3 separate regions of the Homo sapiens genome follow, and regions 2 and 3 are each linked to region 1. The links are contacts of gene promoters, found by promoter capture Hi-C in blood cells and fetal thymus (Javierre and others, 2016). All regions are on one chromosome and are shown on one strand. Each heading gives the region's core, a stretch centred on a gene start or on the middle of the fragment in contact. The rest is flanking DNA. Distances are from core to core; before and after follow the strand shown. Region 1 holds the start of C7orf25 (chromosome 7 open reading frame 25). Region 2 holds the start of MPLKIP (M-phase specific PLK1 interacting protein). Region 3 has its middle 2.6 kb from the start of TBRG4.

The links. The method cuts DNA at HindIII sites, captures the fragments that hold promoters and counts their contacts. A CHiCAGO score of 5 or more calls a contact.
Region 2: a contact is called between the fragment with the promoter of MPLKIP here and the fragment with the promoter of C7orf25 in region 1, in 4 of 17 cell types (naive B cells, total B cells, naive CD8 T cells and 1 more). The highest score is 10.3, in naive B cells.
Region 3: a fragment that was not itself captured here is called in contact with the fragment with the promoter of C7orf25 in region 1 in 3 of 17 cell types (non-activated CD4 T cells, naive CD4 T cells and activated CD4 T cells); the score reaches 7.5 in non-activated CD4 T cells.

Annotation. Positions count from the first base shown.
Region 1 is chr7:42,909,259-42,914,043 of GRCh38, reverse strand. It overlaps C7orf25 (chromosome 7 open reading frame 25), which reads left to right and starts at 1,974. Exons shown (of 2, transcript NM_001099858.2): 1 at 1,974-2,129; 2 at 3,123-4,771. The coding sequence starts at 3,144. The coding sequence ends at 4,409. RefSeq lists enhancers at 172-231, 1,751-2,447, 2,448-3,145 and a silencer at 2,143-2,402. The HindIII fragment of the contact is 2,903 bases long and covers 1,695-4,597 here.
Region 2 is chr7:40,131,947-40,136,731 of GRCh38, reverse strand. MPLKIP (M-phase specific PLK1 interacting protein) reads left to right here and starts at 2,110. Exons shown (of 2, transcript NM_138701.4): 1 at 2,110-2,503; 2 at 3,473-4,785. The coding sequence starts at 2,165. The coding sequence ends at 3,673. SUGCT (succinyl-CoA:glutarate-CoA transferase) reads right to left here and starts at 1,727. Exons shown (of 14, transcript NM_001193313.2): 1 at 1,612-1,727. The coding sequence starts at 1,711. RefSeq lists silencers at 1,655-1,854, 2,315-2,384 and an enhancer at 2,035-2,104. The HindIII fragment of the contact is 4,548 bases long and covers 1-3,698 here.
Region 3 is chr7:45,111,900-45,116,684 of GRCh38, reverse strand. No RefSeq gene overlaps it. Among named protein-coding and RNA genes, the nearest start is that of TBRG4, 2.6 kb to the right of the region's middle. RefSeq lists enhancers at 4,461-4,785, 4,580-4,785. The HindIII fragment of the contact is 669 bases long and covers 3,193-3,861 here.

The DNA of each region.
Region 1 (4,785 bases), core at 725-3,224:
ACCTCAGAGAAGTTTCTCTTAGAACCCTCTGTCTTCCTGTTCCAATCCAGGCTAGGTGCTTGTTTGAAACTATCTTTATTCTCCTTGCTTTCTCTCTGAATTGGCTGGGTTTAAAAACTCTAAGAAATAAATTATCTCCACATTTTGAAAGCATTACTCCCTTCTAAATTCCAGTGTTGCTGATAGGAAGCCTAATACTATTGCGTATGTGATGCCAAGTCCTTTGTAAGTTTTCCCCTCTGCAGCTCTTGGTTTTTCTCTTATCTGCTGTGTTCTGAAACTTCACAACCATGTTCCTTTGTGTGGGTTTCTTAATAGTCATTGTGGTGAGCACTCAGTGGGCCCTTGCACTGTGAAAAACGTTTCTGTTTGCTAAATTTTCTATTAAGTTTTTGAAAAATTTTCTCTTCATTTTGTTTTTGTTTCTAAACTCCTGTTAATTGGATACTGGATCCTTTTGTTTTTGCTCCATTTTTCATCTATTTCTACTTTCTAAATTTTTCCAACTCATTGATGTTTTGAAATTTGGGATATGATTTTTACTACAGAAGAACCATTTCCTGTGCTCTGCTGTCTCCTTAAAAAAAGAAATCCTCTTGTTTCATAGCTGAAATATCTTTTATTTGAAGATGCTAGTTATAGAATACTTTTTGAGACCATTTTGTTCTGTTTTCCATTTCCTTCAAATAACAAAAACGTTGGGAAATGCTGTGTTCGTGAGGCTCACACTAGGGGATGCTGAATGTTGGTATTGCCGAGCCATTTCTCTAGGGTCTTTTGTCTACTCATTTCTTCAGAGAAAAATAGGGTTATGGGGAGATAGTGGTAGGGAGCGGTAGAGGGGTGCCTGCATTATGGGAGGGGCAGAGAAGGGGGCTGCTAGCATTGCACTATTCAGTAGGAAAACATCATGGCACCTCTCATCCTTTGTTAGGCTTTGTGTCTGGAATCCCTCTGATGCCCTGTCTTTAGCATCTTAAACTAGTCTTCTGCCTGAACAATTTACTGCCCTCCCTTCTACCTTCAAGGCACCTGAAGCTTTCTGGGGTTCTGCTTTGTGAATCAGTGGCTAAATATCCCCTTCTACAAGCAGTTTGCTCAGTTCTCCTGACACCATCTGCAAAGAGGGTGCTTGGGTTCAGGTAACCTCCCTATGGCTCACTTATCTGTAAAGCATACTTAATATCTCTACCTTTTAGGTTGTTTAAAGGAGTGAACAATGTGTAAAACACTTAGAACAATGTCTGTCACGCTGTAAGGACTGAATAAGTTATTGCTCTTGTCCTCCAAAAATGTGTTGGTATAACCGGTCTGCAGTCATCTCTTCTCTTGTTCTTTTTGCCTTTGTTTGTTCCCTTTGTCATTGCTTTACTGTTATTTGGAGAAGGAGCATTGCTTTACTGTTAAGTTTGGAGAAGGAGCAGGATACACAGGATTAATTATAACTGGAAGTCCTCTTTAATATTTTAAATTAGCTTTACTTTCTTACAGCCCTAATCTTTCTGGGTGACTCTGGACACTCTACTACAGTAATATGAATATGGCAGCCCCTCGGAAGCCATGCAATCATTTCTTCTCTTCAGAAGGACAGCACACTTTCTTTGGAGGGCCCAGGACAATGCAGTGGAAAGTGCTTTGGCTTGGAGGCAGAAGTCCCAGAGGCAGTACTTCTCAGCTGTCACCTCTGACAAGCTTCTCCAGCGTTTCTTCTGTTAAAATGAGCCCCCAAAATGCCTACGACCCGGTTGCGATCGAGTGGCCGACGCCCCCAGTGGGAGTGAGGCCCAGCACGCGAGCTCGGTCCCTCTTCCTGGAGCCAGGTGGGTGCGCGCCTTCAGGCTCACCCGGCGGCGCAAGCGGGAGAAGCCAGGTGCCCTCAATAAACATGGCCGCCACGCCAGCGTCAACCCGGCTCGGGAGGCCGCGCTGCCGCTTGGGAATCGCAGGTTTGGCGTCACCCGGCCCGGAACCACGTGATGCAGGAGGTGCCCGAGGCGGCGGGGCTCGCGCGGGTGGAGCCGCCTCGGCGTTCGAGCGGGGTGGGGGCTGCCCGGTTGAGATTTCCCGGCGGGTCCCGGCCTCTGCGTGCACGCGCCTGCGTGCTCGCGCTCGCGGTTCTGGCGCTGCCGGTGAGGAGCCGGGGAGCGAGGCGGGGAGGCTGGGAGCGGGGCGCCTCTTCTGAGGCCAGAGGGGGCTGGGCAGGGCCGGCCCGGCGGGAAGGGGGTCGGCCGCGCGCTATCAGCGCCTGGTCCCTGAGCCGCGGCGCTGGCGGTGGGGGCTTTTCGGCCCCGGCCCCTCCTGGCAGGGCCCGGCTGTGCAGGTGGCCGGGCAGGGCCGAGGGCCCCGCAGCCCACCGAGAAGGCCCCGCCGGCCTCTGGCCCGCCCACCCGGCGACCTGCGCTGGGGCCGCTTGCACGGCCGCCGCGGGTTGCAGCCTTGGAGTTTAGTTTCATCTTCGGATTTTCCTTCAGAGTCGGAGTGGGAGTGGGACGCAAGTTGGTGGTCTTCTTCGGTCTTTTAAAATAGTCTGGGTTGACGTCAAATGCAGAAATGAGGCAGTGTTGATTTTTTTTGGCGTAAGTACCCCAAGCCTCGGGGGAAATCATGAGGCAGCCGGTTGAAGGAGACCAACTCGGGAAGGAGGAAAAGGTTAGGGAGGCTGAAGTGCTCAGTTTAGGACAGACACTTGCTTTGGACAGTTTGCTAACTAGCCAGTCTGTGTGTATTTTTGTTTTCGGCATTTTTGTCGCCTTTATTAAAATTTCTCAGCAGTTAAACAGGCCGCTGATAGACATAAGGGAATTATTTATATAGCAGATTGCCCAACTCTTGCATTGTATCCTAACCTAGGACCATGCTGTGTCCCCATGGCTTTCAAGCTGAAGAAATGAAGGTCTAAAGTGTGTCAGACGTACCTAAAGAAGAGTTCAAAAGTGTAGCTGCCATCCTTTCCTTAGCTATCAGAGGAAGCAGTCACTCCAGAATGAGACATACACAAGCCCGGGTTCATAGACTCACCCTCCATAAGCTGTGTTGCTAGATTGAAGTTTTTAATCACCAGTGAAGAATTGATTGTCATAATTTTAGGAGACTACTGAAGTTTGCCTTGTTTCTTTCCCTAGGAAAGGAATAATGCTGACAGCATGTCTGCACATTCCATGCTCTGTGAACGAATCGCCATAGCCAAGGAACTGATCAAGAGAGCAGAATCACTTTCTAGATCAAGAAAAGGTGGCATAGAAGGTGGTGCAAAGCTGTGCAGCAAATTGAAGGCAGAATTAAAATTCTTGCAGAAAGTAGAAGCTGGGAAAGTAGCTATTAAAGAGTCTCATTTACAGAGCACTAACCTAACACACCTGAGAGCCATTGTGGAATCAGCAGAAAACCTGGAAGAAGTTGTTAGTGTTCTTCATGTCTTTGGTTATACAGATACCTTAGGAGAAAAGCAAACCCTTGTGGTAGATGTAGTTGCAAATGGTGGTCATACTTGGGTGAAAGCCATTGGCCGGAAGGCTGAAGCTCTTCATAACATCTGGCTGGGCAGGGGCCAATATGGTGACAAAAGCATCATTGAGCAGGCTGAAGACTTCCTCCAGGCCAGTCACCAGCAGCCAGTGCAGTATAGCAACCCTCACATCATCTTTGCATTTTACAACAGTGTCTCCAGCCCCATGGCAGAGAAGCTGAAAGAAATGGGCATATCTGTGAGAGGAGACATAGTAGCAGTCAACGCTCTGTTAGATCACCCTGAAGAGCTTCAACCAAGTGAGAGTGAATCAGATGATGAGGGCCCTGAACTTTTGCAGGTGACCAGAGTTGACCGAGAAAATATACTAGCAAGTGTTGCGTTTCCAACAGAAATTAAGGTCGATGTGTGCAAAAGAGTAAATCTGGACATTACTACTTTAATCACATATGTATCTGCCCTCAGCTATGGAGGCTGCCACTTTATTTTCAAAGAGAAAGTGCTCACAGAACAAGCAGAGCAAGAGAGGAAAGAGCAGGTTCTACCTCAGCTGGAGGCCTTTATGAAGGACAAGGAGTTGTTTGCTTGTGAATCTGCTGTCAAGGACTTTCAGTCTATTTTAGATACCTTAGGAGGACCTGGGGAGAGAGAGAGGGCCACTGTGTTAATTAAGCGAATTAATGTGGTACCAGACCAGCCTTCTGAGCGTGCCTTGAGACTAGTGGCCAGTTCAAAAATTAATAGCCGCTCATTAACAATTTTTGGGACGGGAGACACCCTAAAAGCCATCACAATGACTGCTAATAGTGGTTTTGTCAGAGCTGCAAACAACCAGGGTGTTAAATTTAGTGTGTTTATCCATCAGCCCAGAGCACTTACTGAGAGTAAAGAGGCTCTAGCCACCCCCTTACCAAAAGACTACACAACTGACAGTGAACACTAAAGATACCCTTTAAATATTTTTGTGGAAGTAAGTTATTTATACCAAAGGCTGGGTCTTCCCATCTAAACTGGTGGGAAAAAAGGTCTATAGTAAAAGTAAAACTGAGAACTCTTAAACCAGTAGAGTTTCTTTGTCTCTCATCTAAAGTATATAACCTCCCAAAGTAGAAAAAGCACAAGAGAGAAGCTTATCTATCAAACTGTCTGCATTAGTGCAATTAAGAACCGAAATACGTCTATATAAAGCTTTCAGCTGTATTGTAATACTTTGATTCGATAGGGCTACAACTCCCCTACTGCTAACCACATTTCATGGAATATGGCTACATTGCATCTTGCATTAAATATCTGGAGAAAATTCAAGCCTGTTTTTCATT
Region 2 (4,785 bases), core at 861-3,360, 2.8 Mb after region 1:
GAGCAATTCCCAAGCATTAAGTTAAACACTAAAGACAATGTCCAGAAAGGTGAATTTTTGGCCAGGACAGAACTACTGTATTTAATAAAGTGGATAGGCTGGAGTCCTCCGACCTTAATTGTATCACTAAGCCTTAATGGCAACGTGCTACCTTGATTAAGTCTATCACTTGTATCTACAGAAGAAACGAAATGTAGTGAATTGAATTTCCACAGAATAAACAAACAAAAAAACTGTCTGTGTGTGTCTCCATTCATCAAGGAGGATAGAAGCTGAGAAGATACCACACTCGTCAGCTTGGGATGTCACAGAACATGTCAAAGAGACAGCGAGGAGTAGCAGCTACAAGAGGGTGAATGGAAATCACAGGTCCAGGCTACCCGTTAGGCTATGATTTAATGAGTCCTAAAGCTCTTTTAAGATTCTGTATCCTACGCCAGGCGCGGTGGCTCACGCATGAAATCCCAGCACTTCGGGAGGCAGAGGCAGGCGGATCACTTGAGCCCAGGAATTTGAGACCAGCCTGGCCAACATGGTGAAACCCGTCTTTACTAAAAATACAAAAAAATTAGCCGGGCATGTGGCACATGCCTGTAATCTCGGCTACTCTAGAAAGCTGAGGCAAGAGAATCGCTTGAACCCGCGAGGCAGAGGTTGTGGTGAACCAAGATCGCGCCACTGCACTCCAGCCTGGGCGACAGAGCGAGACTGTCTCAAAAAAAAAAAAAAAAATCCTGCATCCTGCAACTAATTTCAAGATTCATAGTGGGCCGCGCGCATAATCATAGAGATTACGTCTGTAATCTCAACACTTTGGGAGGCCGAGGCGGGAGGATAACTTGAGGTCAGGAATTCGAGACCAGCCTGGCCAATATGGCGAAACCCCGTCTCTACTAAAAATACAAAAATTAGTTGGGCGTGGTGGCGCATGCCTATAATCCCAGCTACTCGGAAGGCTGAAGCAGGAAAATCTCCTGAACACGGGAGGAGGAGGTTGCAGTGAGCCGAGATCGCGCCACTGCAGTCCAGCCTGGGCGAGACAGCGAGACTCCGTCTCAAAAAAAAGAGAAAAAAAGAAAAAAGGAAAAAAAAGATTCATAGTGGATTACCATTCCCAAATTCAGAGGGAGTAAAGAAAGTTCTATAACACTGTAGTAAAGCTAAATTTCATCCTCTAAATAAAATTCTGCAACAGGTAACTGTACAAGGGCATCTTTTATTGTACATGAAGTGTCAAGTTATTCAAAGCAGCGGGCTAAAGTCCTTTCTGAAATGTGGCTTGGTGTGCATTTTCGAAGTTACTTAAACTTGGCGGACGAAAGGACAGGAGTAAAGAGGCCCCAAACGCGAGCCGCGGGACGCGCAGGAGCGGGACCCCACGGCGCACGGAGCCCTCGGTCACAACAACGCACGGGACAGAGGCGACCCTGGGCGGCCAGAGCGGGGCAGGCCGGCCGCAGGCCCACGGAACGGGGTTGCAGGGAGGCGAGCAAAGCCACCGCTAAGGGGTCAGCAGAGACTTCAGACCCTAATTGCTCTCCTCAGGGCGCCCGAGGAGGCAAGCTGGGGCAGGGATCCCTTTAGCCACCCAGACCGAATCTCGGAGGGTACCTGACTGCGGGCGGCCAGTCCACAGCCCCCTCCCGCCGCCCCGGCCGGAGAAGAGGCAGGTTCTGCGCAGAGCTGCCACCCTCGCCAGCGTCGCCAGCATCGCGTGCGTCTCAGATGGCATCGGTCCCGGTGCAAGCGGCGAACTCCGTGCGGCGCCACCCGCCGCCACTGGGGGGCGCCCACGGACGCCGCAGACCCCGCCCCCGCCGGGCGGGGCTGAGCACTAGTCGCCTGCTGGGCCAGCTTCTAGTCTGTCGGTCAGACCAAGGGCACTCAGACTGGAAAGGTTGTTGCTGGGCTTGGGTGTCCGTCCTTTCCTGTCTCCTTTTCTTCCTCTTTTCACTTAAATCCACTGAGTCTCTCGCCAAGTCAGTGATTTAGGTAATCCCGCCGCCCCTGGCGGAACCTTTGTGACGCCGGAACTGATGTGCCGTAGGGTGGCTGCGGTCGGAGGACTGTTTTGGTAAAGGACTAGCAGTTCTCTGCGGAGGGCCGGTTGATACAGTTCCGGTGGGAGAACGCGGCTGCGAGGTTTTCGGCTTTGGCTCCTGATATGCAGCGACAGAATTTTCGGCCCCCAACTCCTCCTTACCCTGGTCCGGGTGGAGGAGGTTGGGGTAGCGGAAGCAGCTTCCGGGGAACCCCGGGCGGGGGCGGACCACGGCCGCCCTCCCCTCGAGACGGGTACGGGAGTCCGCACCACACGCCGCCGTACGGGCCCCGGTCTAGGCCGTACGGGAGCAGTCACTCTCCGCGACACGGCGGCAGCTTCCCGGGGGGCCGGTTCGGGTCTCCGTCCCCTGGCGGCTACCCTGGCTCCTACTCCAGGTCCCCCGCGGGGTCCCAGCAGCAATTCGGCTACTCCCCAGGGCAGCAGCAGACCCACCCCCAGGTAATAATAATAGCCAGCGTTTGCCGAGCTCTTACTTTATGGCAGGCACGGTACTAATATTCCCTTTACGTGGATTATTTTGTCTAATCCTCTCTGAGGTACTATTGTTAGCCCAATTTTGCAGATGAGCGAACTGAGGCTTAGAGAAGTTGAGTGACTTCCGGAAGATTATCCGAAAGAGTGGCAGAGCCGTACGTTCTGTTTTCGAGCCCTCGTGCTTTTAACCAATACACTGCCACCCGTACACAGATTTTCCTAATTCTCCATTTCCTCCTGTTTGCCAAAGGCCTTGCCAGTTTGTTTCAAGAAATAGTTCTTTTTCTTTTTTTTTTTTTTTTTTTTATCTTTCTTTCGAGCTACACTGGCTTCTGCTCCAACTTCCCTGAAAAGAAAATCGGTGGTAGTGGAAGTTTTCCATTCCTTTAGTGAGAGTAAATACAAAAGACAGAGAGAGTATCTCTAGCATGTCTGGGATTTCTGTGGTTTACAACTTGCAACTACGTGGTTTTCCAACTTGCTGTATTCTACACCAACCCCCTACCCCTTTTGAGCCTGGAGCTAAGGAGTAAAGAAAATGTTCATGAGCTAGAAAGGTTCTAGAAACTTTAAAACTATAGTATTGTTTTCTCCTGAAAAAAGTGAAAATTTCGAGGGAAAATTGAATATAATTACTTGATTTCATCACTGCTTGTATTTAATTACTGCAAAGTTACTACATTAGACACAAAAGTATTTGAGATGACAGTGGTCATGGAATTATAAATAAATGAGAATAACGAATTGCTTTAAGTACTTTTTTTAAAAAATAGGAACACTTGATTAAAGGAAGCATGGACTTTGTAATTGAACATTATTTAGGTTCAAGTCACAACTTTTAAGCAGCAATGTGATTCCCGCTAACCTTTAGCTAAAGGAAGAAGTACCAATTATCTTTACTAAGTGTTTTTTTAACTGATTTTTTTTCTAAAGGGTTCTCCAAGGACATCTACACCATTTGGATCAGGGCGTGTTAGAGAAAAAAGAATGTCTAATGAGTTGGAAAATTATTTCAAGCCTTCAATGCTTGAAGATCCTTGGGCTGGCCTAGAACCAGTATCTGTAGTGGATATAAGCCAACAATACAGCAATACTCAAACATTCACAGGCAAAAAAGGAAGATACTTTTGTTAACATTTCTGAAATTCAACTGGAAGCTTCATGTGTCAGGAACATCTTGGACAAAACTTTAAGTTGTGTTGATATAAATTTACCCAAAGATGATGACTTTGATTGGATAATTAGTAAGGTCTTTTTGTTATTTTTCATCGTATCAGGTATTGTTGATATTAGAGAAAAAAGTAGGATAACTTGCAACATTTAGCTCTGGAAGTACCTACCACATTTTAGAGATTTACCGTTTCCATATATTTAACATTCCTGGTTACATAATGGACATTTGTCTTTTAATGTTTTTTCAATGTTTTAAAATAAAACATTTTGTCTTCTAGCTATTGTGGTTTTGTGGTATGATAAAGAAGTAGACTTACTACAGTAATGCTTTGTAGTCACTTAGAGTTCATAGGTAAATGTTTTGCAAATTATTTTTGAAAATGAAATAGGTAAACCATCCTTTGAGCTGTAGACAGCTCTGTATTTGTTCGTAAATAATGAGGATGAGAATAACAGAGTTCTGTTCATACTCATTTTATCTAATGCTTCTGTTAAAATGCATTAAAACTTGAAGCCCCAGAAACCCATTTAAGCATAACTTTATACTCATTTAACTGGAAAAGGCAAGAATAGACCATGCATTGCTAAATCAAAGTGTTCTATCTGAATTTCTCTATACCTCTTAGCATTATGGAGTTAGTTTCTCTTGAGGCCAAAGAAGATAGCTACCAGCAGCCTCAAATCACTTCCATTGCAAAAAGAACATCTCTCATCTCCATCAATCCAAGAGAAGACAAATTTGCCATACTTAGATCATGTTTCTGTATTATTGAACCAATTAACTGTGGCCAAGGCCACAGTGAGACCTAATTAACTTGAATCATGGACACATCACCATAATGAGACAGGATTCTGTGACCTTGAACACCACTGGGCCTACCTGGAGTAGAGAAGTGGTTTTCCAAATTAAGGGATGCTATGGATATATACCTATAGTTCTGGAGAGAAAAATATGGAAGAATTGTTACCCCAACTATTTTTTAAAAATCAAGTGGTTTTTTGTTTGTTTTTTGAGATGGAGTCTGTTGCCCAAGCTGGAGTGCAGTGGTGCAATCTTGGCTCACTGCAACCTT
Region 3 (4,785 bases), core at 2,278-4,777, 2.2 Mb before region 1:
AGCCAAGTTTCCAGATGCCAGTCAGAAGGCAGCCTCAGGTGCTGTATCAGCTTCTGCACTCCAGAGCTCATATCAACTGTGGTTTGATTCCAACTGGAGGGAAGGTGAATAGACAGGAGCAGACAGAAACAGGGTGGTCAAGCATCCCAGTTTGCCTGGGACTTGAGGCGAGGAAGGGTAGGGGAGCTTCCCAAGACATGAGACTTTCTATGCTAAAACCAGCATGGCAAGTGGAGAAGTTTCAACATGTGTTTTGGAGGGGTCAAGTATTCAAACCACAACAGACGCTAACTACTTAGAGTTAGCACAGACCTCACAGGTTAAGGGCTCAGTCCCACAACACTGCCCTCACTTCAGGTGCCAGTCACAAGTAGTGGGTCCCAGACTATCCACACTTCTGTTTGACTTGGCTACAAAGCAAGGTTTCCCATGACCTGCTCTTCAGGTTTAGTAATTTGCTATAAGAGCTCACAGAAGTCAGAGAAACATTTTATCTACTGCCTTATTCCATCTGGGCTGCTGGAACAAAATACCATAGACTGAGTAATTTATAAACCCTAGAAATGTATTGCTCACAGTTCTGGAGATTGGGAAGTCCAAGATCAAGACACCAGCAGCTTCAGTGTCTGGTAAGGGCTCTCTCCCTCATAGAAGGTAACTTCTTACTGTGTCCTCACATGGCAGAAGGAGAAAGGGACAAACATGCTCCCTCGGGCCTCTTTTATAAGGGCACTAATTCCATTCACGAGGGCTCCATCCTCTTGACCTAATTACCTCCCAAAGGCCCCACCTCTTAATATCAACACTTTGCAGATTAGACTTGAACATACACATTTCGGAGGGACACAATCAGATCATAACATCTATGTTTACTAGTTTATTACAAAGCATATTTTAAAGGATACAGATGAACATCTAGATTAAAAGGGTCTTAGGGGCCAGGCACGGTGGCTCACACCTGTAATCCCAGCACTTTGGGAGGCCGAGGCGGGCGGATCACGAGATGAGGAGATCAAGACCATCCTGGCTACCACGGTGAAACCCTGTCTCTACTAAAAATACAAAAAATTAGCCGGGCATGGTGGCGTGTGCCTATAGTCCCAGCTACTCGGGAGGCTGAGGCAGGAGAACGGCATGAACCCAGGAAGCGGAGCTTGCAGTGAGCCGAGATAGCGCCACTGCACTCCAGCCTGGGCGACAGAGCGAATCTCCATCTCAAAAAAAAAAAAAAAAAAAGTCTTAGGGCCAGGTTCCAAAGGAAACTGTTCCTCTAATCACAACACTTCTGGAAGAATCTCAAGCATCAGAGCTTCTGTTCCCATGGGGTTTGGGAGGTGACACCTTCCCAGCATGTGGATGCATTCACCAACTTGGAAGCTCTCTGAACCCCATTGTTTAATAAGTTTTTATGAAGTTTCATTACCTAGGTATAATTGATAAAATCATTGGCCATTAGTAATGACAGTCAAAAGAAATGTTTTTATATGAGGAATATGAGCTTCCTCTAAATTATCAGGCCCAAAAAAAGGCATGAGAAAGAGACAGCAGTCACATCTCACTTCCTCCCTCTTGCTGAATAATCATCTTTTGAAGCTGCTTGCTATGTGGACTCTAGACTGACTGCCCCCCAAGTAGCTATAAATTAACCTAACAATACTGCATGCTGCACAACATAACTCATACCCTATCATTCAACAATGTATAGCCATCACTAATCAATGTTATTTCTGTAAACCAATGAGAATTCCTGACAAACAACTTTTTATCTGCCCCATGCCTAGTCCCCTTTTTTACCTTTAAAAACCTGCTTGTAACAAAGGCTTAATGAAGCTCATATCCCAGGTTACTTGCATGTGAGTCTTCTGGGCAGCTGTCTTCATTTTGGTTCAAATGTAAACTCTCCACTTTTATTAATTTTGCCTCCGTTTCTTCTTTTAGATAAACTGTAATCAAATCAATCTCCAGCCTCTCTCCTCTCTCTGGAGGTTGAGAGGTGGGGCTAAAAGTTTCAGCCCTCTAATCACATGGTTGGTTTCTCTGATAACCAGCTCCCATCTTCCAAAAGCCACTTCATTAGTGGCATAAACTCAGGTATGGTTAAAAGGGGCTTATGATGAATAACAAAAGATGTCACTATCATTCAAGAAGTTACAAGTGTTTTACAAATGCCCATCAATGATAGCCTGGATAAAGAAAATGTGGTACATATACACCATGGACTACTATGCAACCATAAAAAGGAATGAGATCATGTCCTTTGCAGGGACACAGATGGCGCTGAAAGCCATTATCCTTGGCAAACTAACACAGGAACAGAAAACCAAACACTGCATGTTCTCACTTATAGGTGGGAGCTGAACAATGAGAACACATGGACACAGGGAGGGGTACAACACACACTGGGGTCTGTCCATGGGACAGGGGGAAGGGAGAGCACCAGGATAAGTAGCCAATGCATGCAGGGCTTAATACCTAGGTGATGAGTTGATAGGTGCAGCAAACCACCACGGCACACGTTTACCTATATAACAAACCTGCACGTCCTGCACATGTATCCTGGAACTTTAAATTAAATTAAAATACACATACACAAATGAAAAACATCAGGATAGCAATTAGCTGGGGTGGAGGGATAAGAAAGAAGAGGAAACTCTCAGAAAATTGCAACAATATTGGTAATATTCTATTTCTTAAGTGGAGTAATGGGTTCACGGGTTTCTTTTCATAATTCTGCTTTGTAACTTGAGCATATTTAAATTTATATATACACTATATATATTATGTATATGTAGCAAACATTTTATAAATACAAATGATATTATCTTTATAAAATGCCTTAATGAAAACCTAAAGAAAAAAGTTACAAGGGTTTTAGAAGCTCTATGCAGAGACCACATATATATTTCTTAAGTCACAGGTGGCTTTTAGTATACTCAGTGTTGTGCAACCATCCCTATTATCCAATTCCAGGACACTTTTACCATCTCAAAAAGAAACCTCAAACCCATCAGAAGTCACTCCCTATTCTCCCCACCTCAACATCACATAGGTGACTCTATCAATTCACCTACTCTGGACATTGCAAATATAAATGGAACTATACAATATGTGGCCTCATGTGTCTAACTTCTTTCCCTTAGCATGTTTTCAAGGTTCTTTCCTCAACAAAACTCCATTAGTTTGTCTAAAGCTTTTCTTTTAACAGATCTATAAATCTGTTGTAATATTGTCTTTTGACAGACAACTTGTGAAGGATTTGGAGTAGAATTTGTGATAAATACATGGAATCTTAATTAACTGTTAACAGAAAAATCAAACTCTGTAAATTACTTAAAGAGGTTTATTCAGGGCCAATGAGTGACCACAGCCCCAGGAAAATACAAACCCAAAAAGCCTTAAGTGTTCCCGAGGCAGTCAGATTATAGTTTGGTTTTATACATTTCAGGGAGCCAGGGGTTACAGGCAAAGACATAAATCAATGTGTGGAAGGTATACACTGGTTTGGCTCCAAAAGACAGGATGTCTTGATGTGGGGGGTTTACAAGTTATATGTGGACTCAAATACATAGATATATACACGATATATGATTGATTGATAGATAGATAGATAGATCTCTTGGTAGGGGTAGATAGGGTCTCCCTATGTTGCCCAGGCTAGTCTTGAACTCTTGGCCTCAAGTGATCCTCCCACCTCAGCCAGCTTGACCAAGAGATTTTTTAATTTGCAACTGGTTAAAAGAGTGAGGCTCTGTGTAAAATTTGGAGTCAGCAGAAAAGAATGTTTAAGATAGTATGCCAGAATCAGCCACAATACACTGGGTCAAAAAAGACCTCTTCAGCAAGATTGATGGTCTGCAAGCTTGACTTAACCCTTGCCTTGCACGGCCTTAGGTCTTGTTTATAATTTGGTATCTTACTACCACAAAGTCTGTTAGTCTTATGATCTCTACTTTAACAAGGGGTGTTCAACCTCCCTTTCCAGAATGGCTGGGAACTCAGTTTTTAAGGTTTCTCTGGGGTCTCCTTGGCTAAGAGGAGGTCCGTTCAGTGCTTGGGGGGCTTACAATTTTATTTTTAGTTTACAAACACAAACAAACGTAATTATTTATTTTTATGTTTTTTGTTTTGTTTTTTGCGACAGAGTCTTGCTCTGTCAACCAGGCTGAGTGCAGTGGCAAGATCGCTGCTCACTGCAACCTCCACCTCCCGGATTCAAGCGATTCTCATGCCTCAGCCTCCCTAGTAGCTGGGACTACAGGTGCGCCCTACCACGCCCGGCTAATTTTTTTGTATTTTTAGTAGAGACGGGGTTTCGCCATGTTGGCCAAGCTGGTCTCGAACTCCTGAACTCAAGTGATCCGCCCACCGAGGCCTGGGATTACAGGCGTGAGCCACCGTGCGTAGCCAAGTAATTATTAACTCCACAGAAAATAAAAGGCTGTGCAGGAAGTAAAAATTAATCAAGTCCATATATAGACCTCAGATACATTTCGTTTGGGCTATCCTGCACTTTACTTTGTAATTAAACACCACTATTTAAAAATCAGGAAAATTGCACATAAAAATCCAGCTGCAAGTGGGCGCTCTGGAGTTCCCCAGTCTCCACTCACTCGTCCTCCCAGCCCCCACAGGCCTCAACGTCGCCTATCCCACTCCACCAGCCCAGTCTTCCACCGCCCTAGGAACTCTCCTACGCCTACGCAAGCAGGGAGGGATAGGGTGACAGCACCGACAACAAAGGGTCGTCTCCCGCACTCCGTATGAGGATGGCGTACTGGTCGGGGG